Regions from separate parts of the Homo sapiens genome. Here all the other regions are linked to region 2. The links are contacts of gene promoters, found by promoter capture Hi-C in blood cells and fetal thymus (Javierre and others, 2016). All regions are on one chromosome and are shown on one strand. Each heading gives the region's core, a stretch centred on a gene start or on the middle of the fragment in contact. The rest is flanking DNA. Distances are from core to core; before and after follow the strand shown.

Evidence for each region. The method cuts DNA at HindIII sites, captures the fragments that hold promoters and counts their contacts. A CHiCAGO score of 5 or more calls a contact.
Region 1: a contact is called between the fragment with the promoter of FBXO40 here and the fragment with the promoter of SLC15A2 in region 2, in 1 of 17 cell types (neutrophils). The highest score is 7.0, in neutrophils.
Region 3: a fragment that was not itself captured here is called in contact with the fragment with the promoter of SLC15A2 in region 2 in 1 of 17 cell types (monocytes); the score reaches 7.6 in monocytes.

Annotation. Positions count from the first base shown.
Region 1 is chr3:121,592,019-121,594,838 of GRCh38, forward strand. FBXO40 (F-box protein 40) reads left to right here and starts at 1,361. Exons shown (of 4, transcript NM_016298.4): 1 at 1,361-1,484. RefSeq lists enhancers at 718-1,917, 731-1,381, 1,382-2,033 and a silencer at 1,304-1,598. The HindIII fragment of the contact is 3,467 bases long and covers 1-2,807 here.
Region 2 is chr3:121,892,946-121,895,800 of GRCh38, forward strand. It overlaps SLC15A2 (solute carrier family 15 member 2), which reads left to right and starts at 1,456. Exons shown (of 22, transcript NM_021082.4): 1 at 1,456-1,636. The coding sequence starts at 1,532. RefSeq lists enhancers at 1-415, 416-948. The HindIII fragment of the contact is 13,918 bases long and covers 1-1,790 here.
Region 3 is chr3:122,312,882-122,315,598 of GRCh38, forward strand. No RefSeq gene overlaps it. Among named protein-coding and RNA genes, the nearest start is that of CSTA, 11 kb to the right of the region's middle. The HindIII fragment of the contact is 1,390 bases long and covers 572-1,961 here.

The DNA.
Region 1 (2,820 bases), core at 111-2,610, 300 kb before region 2:
AAATAAGTTTACCTCCAAGGACATATATGTATGAAGAATCCAGGGGAAAGGTTAATTCGATGGCTGTTAATCACAGCCAAATTTAGCACATCTGCTGTTAGTCAAAATACATTCAAATACATTCAAATAACAGCTGGCATTGTGGAGCACTTGGCATGTGGTACATATCATTCATGTGCCTTATGTGTACTGACACAGTTACCTGTGGTCGCACCAAGTATCATCGCCATTTCACAATGGGGAAAACTGAAATAGAAAATGGTTAAGTAAATTTGTCAAAATCACATACCTAATCCCAGCACTTTGGGAGGCTGAGGTGGGAGGATCATGAGGTCAGGATTTCGAGACCAGCGTGACAAACATGGTGAAACCCCGTCTCTGCTAAAAATACAAAAATTAGCCAGGTATGGTGGTACGTGCCTGTAATCCCAGATACTCAGGAGGCTGAGGCAGGAGAATCACTTGAAGCCAGGAGGTGGAGGTTGCAGTGAGCCGAGATCACGCCACTGCACTCTATCCTGGGCAACAGAGCGAGACTCTGTCTCAAAAAAAAAAAAAAGAAAAAGAAAACACCAAAGCCGGGATTCTATATTTTTTTCACTCACAAGATCCTGAATGAGTTTATCTGAAGATGATAAGATAAAGAACGCTAGACTGAGAGTTAAACAAGCTCTCTGGGGCTTTCCTCTGGCTCTTCCACTAACGAGATGTGTGACCTTGGATGAGCAATTTCCCTTTTCTGAATCTCTGTCTCCTCATCTGTAAAAAGAGGGAGCTGGACTAAATGACAGCTAAAGCCTCCTACAACCTCTAATTCTCTCACACTGGATTTACTCTACACCTGGTATCTGAATTACAAACTCTCCCTTTTCCAGGAAAGATGAAAGGACCAGGGGAGGACAGACACTTACTTGTCACGACAAGAGATAGGAGAAACTGAAGCAGGACACCATGTCATTTGCACAAGTTGCTGCTTCAGCCAGTGATGGGTTTAGGTGAGGAGCATGGTTATAATTAGAGCAGCAGCCAGTCCTGAAGGCTGTGCCAGCCTCCTTCAGCACAGCTGGGCCTGCCGACTGCACATGCAGGAATCTGAGAGGCTGTTCTGGCCTTGAAAATGATCCTTCTTAAAAGGATTTTCCTCCTTCCTCAAGGGAAAGAAAACCTATTGATATAAAACTTCACTTCCCATTCAGTTTCCCCTGCTAAATGCCACTCCAGTAGAGACTGAGTGTTGATAAATACAGGGGAAGGAAAAAGTCGTAAGCTGAGCCTGGTCACATTGCCCCTTGTGATATCGTTTTATTTTTAACTTCGCAACACTTGGACTATTTCTGTTGAAGTTTTCTCTCCTTTCCCTGCCTTCCCAACAGAACGCTGTCCTCTACTGCAGCTGATGCAACCCAGCCACCTCCCGGCAATCCGCTTACTTGCAATCAAGGGTTCAGGTGCAAGCAGATGCTGACTCAGCCTGTTCCATTAAGGTAAGTATTCAAACAGGAGCAGGTGCACCATGACGAGGACATTCAGTGGTGAATATGCAGATGAAGCTGAGCCGCATATCACTTTTGTGTCCTGTGGAAGAGGATTGTTAAGCAAATTAGTTATGTAAAGATGTGGGGGAAAGGCTGGCACTGAGAATGAGATCCAGCCGTGTGTAAATTTCTGTTTCCATTTCAAGAGCAGGTAGAGTACTTGCTTTCTGACAGCTTAGGTTCTTTCTTCTATAATCAACAAGAGTAGTTATGATATCTGTAAAGTTACAACATGGTGATGGGTGGGGGGATCTGGGGAAGTGGAGGAGGTGGTGAGGAAACAAGTGGAAGGCCTAGAATCCAGGATTTCTATTCCCTTTTCTTTCTTTTTTGAGACAGTCTTGCTCTGTCACCCAGGCTGGAGTGCAGTGGCACCATCTTGGCTCACTGCAGCCCCTACCTCCCAGGTTCTAGTGATTCTCCTGCCTCAGCCTTCCGAGTAGCTGAGACTACAGGCACATGCCACCACATCCGGCCAATTTTTGTATTTTTTTAGTAGAGACAGAGTTTCACCTTGATGGCTAGGCTGGTCTTGAACTCCTGGCCTCAAATGATCCGCCCACCTCAGCCTCCAAAAGCGCTGGGATTACAGGTCTGAGCCACTGTGCCTGGCCCAGAATTTCTATTATTTATTTATTTATTTAATTCATTGTTATTATTTTTTTGAGACAGAGTCTCACTCTGTTGCCCAGGCTGGAGTGCAGTGGTGCAGTCTCAGCTCACTGCAACCTCCACCTTCTAGGTTCAAGAGAGCCTCCTGCTTCAGCCTCCTGAGTAGCTGGGACTACAGGCCTGTGCCACCACGCCTGGCTAATTTTTGTATTTTTAGTAGAGATGGGGTTTCACCATGTTGGCCAGGCTGGTCTTGAACTCCTGGCCTCAAGTGATCCACCCGCTTCGGCCTCCCAAAGTGCTGAGAATACAAGCATGAGCCGCTGTGCCTGATCAGAATTTCTGTTTTCTAAAGTCTAAATGCTGTGATCTTTTCTCCAGTCAACATTTGCTATGTTTGCTTGCAAGTCATTCTCATGTAGCTTAAAATTTCGTCTGCTGTGTCATACTACTGGTTAATAAGCACAACTGTATTTTCTGTATATACTATTCAAACTCCGCAGAGTTTAACACCTTTTTTTCGCCAACAATATTCTCTAAGTGTGGCCCTCTTCTCCCCAGCTCTCTTGAGTCCAAAATGCATCCATGAAATATAAGTGAAATATTTCTCAAGTTGAAAAACTTATATAGGCTTATGCACCAAAACCAAAGATTGTTACAAGCTTGAACAATT
Region 2 (2,855 bases), core at 206-2,705:
ACTTTAGCAAAGAAGAACAATGGTTCCCAAATGTATATCACCAATCCTTTTCTCTCATTTTCTTTAGCCCCACCTCTTTAATTGCTTATAGGCTATTTCTAGCTGAACTTTTATGATGTTGAAAACAAAAGTCTCCTTCCTTCCTTCCTTTCTTTTCTTTTCTTTCTTTCCTTTCTTTCCCTTCTTTTCTTTCTTTCTTTCCTTTCTTTCCCTTCTTTTCTTTCTTTCTTTCAAGTCTTGCTCCGTCGCCCAGGCTGGAGTGCAGTGGTGGGGTCTCGGCTCACTGCAACCTCTGCCTCTTGGGTTCAAACGATTCTCCTGCCTCAGCCTCCTGAGTAGCTGGGACTACAGGCGCGTGCCACCACACCCAGCTAATTTTTGTATTTTTAGTAGAGATGGGGTTTCACTATGTTGGCCAGGCTAATCTTGAACTCCTGAGCTGTGATCAGCCCACCTCGGCCTCCCAAAGTGTTGGGATTACAGGCGTAAGCCTCTGCACCCAGCCAAAACTCACCATCTTTCTTATCTTCCAAACTCAGTTTTATGATGACTTTCCTTCTCCAATGCATTTTAATCCTCTGCATTCCTACATTCCATTTATGTAACCTCCATACCTGAATAATGACTGACACTAACTCCACTTTTCCCAGCTGTCATGGCATAGTGAAAATTCCAGATCTGCCACTTAGTGGACAGGTACTTTGAACAAATTTCTTAACCTCTGGGAACATTACTTTCTATAAAATGGGGATAGTAATATGAATTAGAATAAATATATATGTTATAGATATACAACATAGATGTAATTCATATATATTAACCTTTCAATAGTAGATGTTCAATAAATTACAGCTATTGTTACCCTGAAATCAGTTTTTCTTTTTTTTTTTTTTTGGAAATGGAGTTTCGCTCTTGTTGCCCAGGCTGGAGTGCAATGGTGCAATCTCAGCTCACCGCAACCTCCGCCTCCCAGGTTCAAGTGATTCTTCTGCCTTAGCCTCCTGAGTAGCTGGGATTATAGGCGCCCGCCACCACACCCAGCTAATTTTTTTTTTGTATTTTTAGTAGAGACGGGGTTTCACCATGTGGGCCAGGCTGCTGACCTAAAACGATCCGCCTGCCTGGGCCTTCCAAAGTGCTAGGATTATATGCGTGAACCACCGCGCCTGACCATGGAATCAGTTTTTCAATCTGTGCTCGAGGTGTTGTGTTCTTAACTATCTTCTACTCCTTTGCAAAGATAATCTTTCTTAAACATAGACTTTCTAATCAGTTCTCTAGCATTGTTTCATTCTGTCTTTGGCATGTTTTCACTTTGCTGTGCTGTACTTTTACACATTCTTTTTAACTATAGCTTCCTGCTTTGCTCTGGATCAGGAAGCTATTGAAGCTGACACCCACAGAGTTAAACTGAGTTGCTGAAGCCACCAGCTCCCCCTCCCAGTCCTTCTTTTCAGAGTAGGCTGGCAGCTGTCCTAACTGCCTACTAAAGCCAAATGCTTGAGGAGAGAGAGAGAGTAAGGAGCCAGCCATGAATCCTTTCCAGAAAAATGAGTCCAAGGAAACTCTTTTTTCACCTGTCTCCATTGAAGAGGTACCACCTCGACCACCTAGCCCTCCAAAGAAGCCATCTCCGGTGAGTCCTTAGATTCAATCCTGCCTCTGAGAGGAATGGCCTCCCTCTTTTGGCTCTCTTCCTTGGGCTCTGGAGCTTCCAGCTGAGCTGTATTAGGGTATTAAAATGCTTCTCTCTTGGATTTAGAATTCACCTGAAACCAAATCTAAACAGAAGCTTCCTTTACATAAGAAGACAAAGCAGCAGGAAGAGGTAGTCAAAGTTCTTCAGTTGGGATCCAGGGACTTGCTGAATTTCATTGCATATTCTGTTTCCCTGGGGGAAAAAAGCAATTCGAATGTCCAGGGAAACTTGGCAAGCATTCTTGTCTGAAGAACTGTGTGTGATTGTTCTTTCTTTACCAATATAAAAACTCTGCCCTTAGTTCTCCCTGTGTGCAGAGTCTTCTGCTGAACACCAATGGAAGTTTCAGAATAGATCCAATTTCTGTTACTATGTGTTCCCAGTTTACTGTGGGAGATAGGACAGAGAAACAGAGAATAGTAATGTTTTGCATTTATATACTCGCTAAAGCACTTCTAAACTCATCATCTCAGTCAATTCTTACACTAAAATTCTGTAAGTGGGGAGGATATAGTAATGATAGCCAAAATTTACTGAGTTCTTACAGTGGGCCAAAAGGTGATGTTATTCTCATTTCTTTGGAATAACAGAACAGAGGTTTTGAGACAGGTGTAGTGACAATGCCAGTATCAGTATGTTAACACAGCCAGTGGCAGTGTTGCCTAACTAGCTAACAGTGTGTCGGCTAAACTCCAGATTGCATAATTCTCAAGCTGTGAGCTGCAAAGGTAAGAAGCCCAGTTCATTGTATGTTTCAAACAAGCTATTATAAAACATTAAAATATATTAATATTTAGGAGGATCATTTATATATATCCCTAGGGTTAAAAGAATAATACATTACTTTATTATTTTGCCTATTTTTTTAGTTAATGATATCTCTTCTGGTCCCAAAGAATTTAGGGCTACTTGCAAAGATGTATATACTTCTCATGAAATGAGGCAATATAAATCTTACAAGATTTGACTGTACTGAGGACAGATACCTCTATGTCTCTTCTCATGTTAGTTGGTCTATTGTAATAGATAGGGAATTAAAATAAAACATAACATTCCTTATATTCTGACTGATATATTACATGAAAAGCATAATTCTTTTAATGTCCAGTAGGATTATCATGAAAATGTTATAGAATCTCTTTAGTAGGAAGAGTAG
Region 3 (2,717 bases), core at 17-2,516, 420 kb after region 2:
ATTTGTTCACATATTTGCTGGGCAGCTGCTGTGTTTCATAATCTGGGAGATGTGATGGCTAACAATCAAGACAACAGTTTCTGCCATGGAAGAGATTATAATCAGATCAGCAAGAAGATAAACAGAAAATATATGTGTAATAACTGAGATAACAGGAATATGTAGTACAAACCAAGAACTAGAGGAAACCACAGAAGGCTTTGGGTAGTGTGGTTTTTGAAAGCAGTATTGCATGTAGATTAATGGAGAACAGAAGGAATGACATCCTTTTCAAGGGGCATTGTATGAACAAGGAGACAGGAGCAAGAATGAGAATGAGAAAGAGGTGCAAGAGGATCTAAGAGGACCCAGCTAGAGAGAAACTCTGAGAGAGAATCTGGTTCAGGAAGACCTGTGAGTACTTGGAGGCTATTCTTAAAATTGTAAATGAATTTGATAGACGACAGGAAGTACCCAAGTTAGGAAGCAATATTTTTTCAGTGTATGAGAAAGAGCTTGGTTTTCAGGAGAAACTAGAAGGGTAGGATCCAACCAGGGAGTGTCAACAATAAGCCAATAAGAGGGTGATGAAAGCTTTAAGGGAGTGATAGCTATGAAAACAGCAAGGAAGGGTGAATTTGAAAGATGTTGCAAAGTCATCACCGCCAGTATGTTTGCATAATTCCTGGCAATATTCCCCCTCAGTTTCTATGCTATGAGCTTTTAAGTTGTAAATTGCCAACATCTTAGAAGTATTATGCCAAGACCTCATTTGTTTAGTTTAATGTAAGGTTTGGGTTGCTAATACGCTATTTCAGTCTTTAAAACTTCCTCTGTAAGAATCCAGTGTTTCTAAATATCAATGGATACAAATAAATAGAAGTTTTAAAGTTTAACTCTCCCTTCCCTTCTCTCCCAGGTGGCTGTGTCAGTGCAGGGGAAAAGGAACACTAGAAGGATCCAGGTGGAAATGACATAGAAGATAATGACACTCCCATGAAGTGGTGAAGCTATAGCCACCACCTGTCCCTGTTGATTAAAGAGCTCCACCTGCCTAGGCACAGCATCCTCAGCTAGGATTGGGGGTAGGCCACTGGGTTAGGACAAAACTTTGCAGGACTGACATGTTATAGGCCCCCATGTAGTATATACTAGATGTGCTGCAACAGGAACCCAGAATCCACCTGCACCCACCTCAATATGGATAGCACGTGTTGCCAACATCTGCTTTGGCTCTTTCTTCAGCTGTTTTCACGTGTTTTCTCTTTGTAAAAATGTTTTCCACCTAGCAGTGGACTACTCTTCCAGATTTCCACCTTTTCACCTCCCTCCTGCCTCTATAAACTTAGGACACCAACATTGTAAGTTACTAGGCTTCTAAATGTAATGCATATGAGAATCACCTGGGAGCTCTTTTTGAAATGCAGACTCTAGAGCCCACCCTCAAGAGATTGTAATTTAATGAATCTAGGAATGGGACTCAGGAATCTGCACTGAACAGGCATCCCAGCTGACTCTGGTGTGGGTGGTTCCCAGCCCAACTTACCAGAGCACTGCTAAGTTGAACCTAGCAGCATAATTAATCCATGCTAAAACCAAACTCATAAATTAACATTTATCAAGAAGCCTTTGAGAGCTTGGTTCTATGATTATGTATGAGTCTTAGGGCTCATTTTTCCTAGGGCATAAACTGATACTAAGTCACACTGGGAGAGCCTATGATCCGTGTATATTTCTGGCAGGGCAGAATTTTCTCTATATTGACAGGCACAGCAACATTGATTGTATAACATTACTCCACCCTGGAATTTACTATTAGTCATAAAAACTGAGGCAACTCCAGTATTGCTGGTTCATTTGATGAGTATTCAGTGTGGGTAGGCCTCTACAACAACTTCTTTCTCCCCTAAAGGGCAAAAACGCAACTCAACTCACAATCCAGGCTACTGAGCAGAGGTTTGAATGACCCCTGAGCCCATACAAGCTTCTCTACATTGTTCTGAGAGCACCCAAAAGCCACTGGGATTGTTGAGACCACTGGTTTCTTTGTCCTGAAGAGAAGAGAGAGGGAAATGATTGCTGCTACACTCACTTTGAAGTGAGAAAAGTTGCGGGTGGCTGAAAATTTTACTCTGAAAAGATGCTGGGTAGCTCTTTGTTCCTACAGCCCTGCAAACTATGCTCCTGATACAGAGTGGGGCAAGTGGGGCGGGAAAGTGCTGGGAAGGGAAAGGCGTAGTCCCTCGCTGGGGATCCAGCCCCAGACCTGTGCCCACAGACCTTGGTGAGGATGGGCATTTCTGTTCTCATGCCCAAATATTGCATTTCCCACGACCACCCTGGGCTGCCATACCCCTATCTTGTGCCTATAAAAACTCCAAGATCCTAGCGGGCACACACACAAGCAGCTGGACATCAAGAGGAACACACCAATGGTTGAGGACACAAGCGGCTGGAAATTGAGAGGAACACACCCGCGTAAGAGCACACCCACAGGCACTGACAGATTTCGGCAGGCCATCGACTGGTGGAACAATGCAGAGTTTGGCTGGGGTGGTCGGAGAAGAGCCCAGCTGCCCGGAAGCCCGATTGCAGGGGAAAACCACCTTCCCACTCCAGCCCCCTTCTGGCCTTCCCATCTACCTCGCTGAGAGCTACCACTCAATAAAAATCCTTACACTCATTCTCCAAGCCCACATGTGATCTGGTTCTTCTGGTACACCAAGGCAAAAACCCCG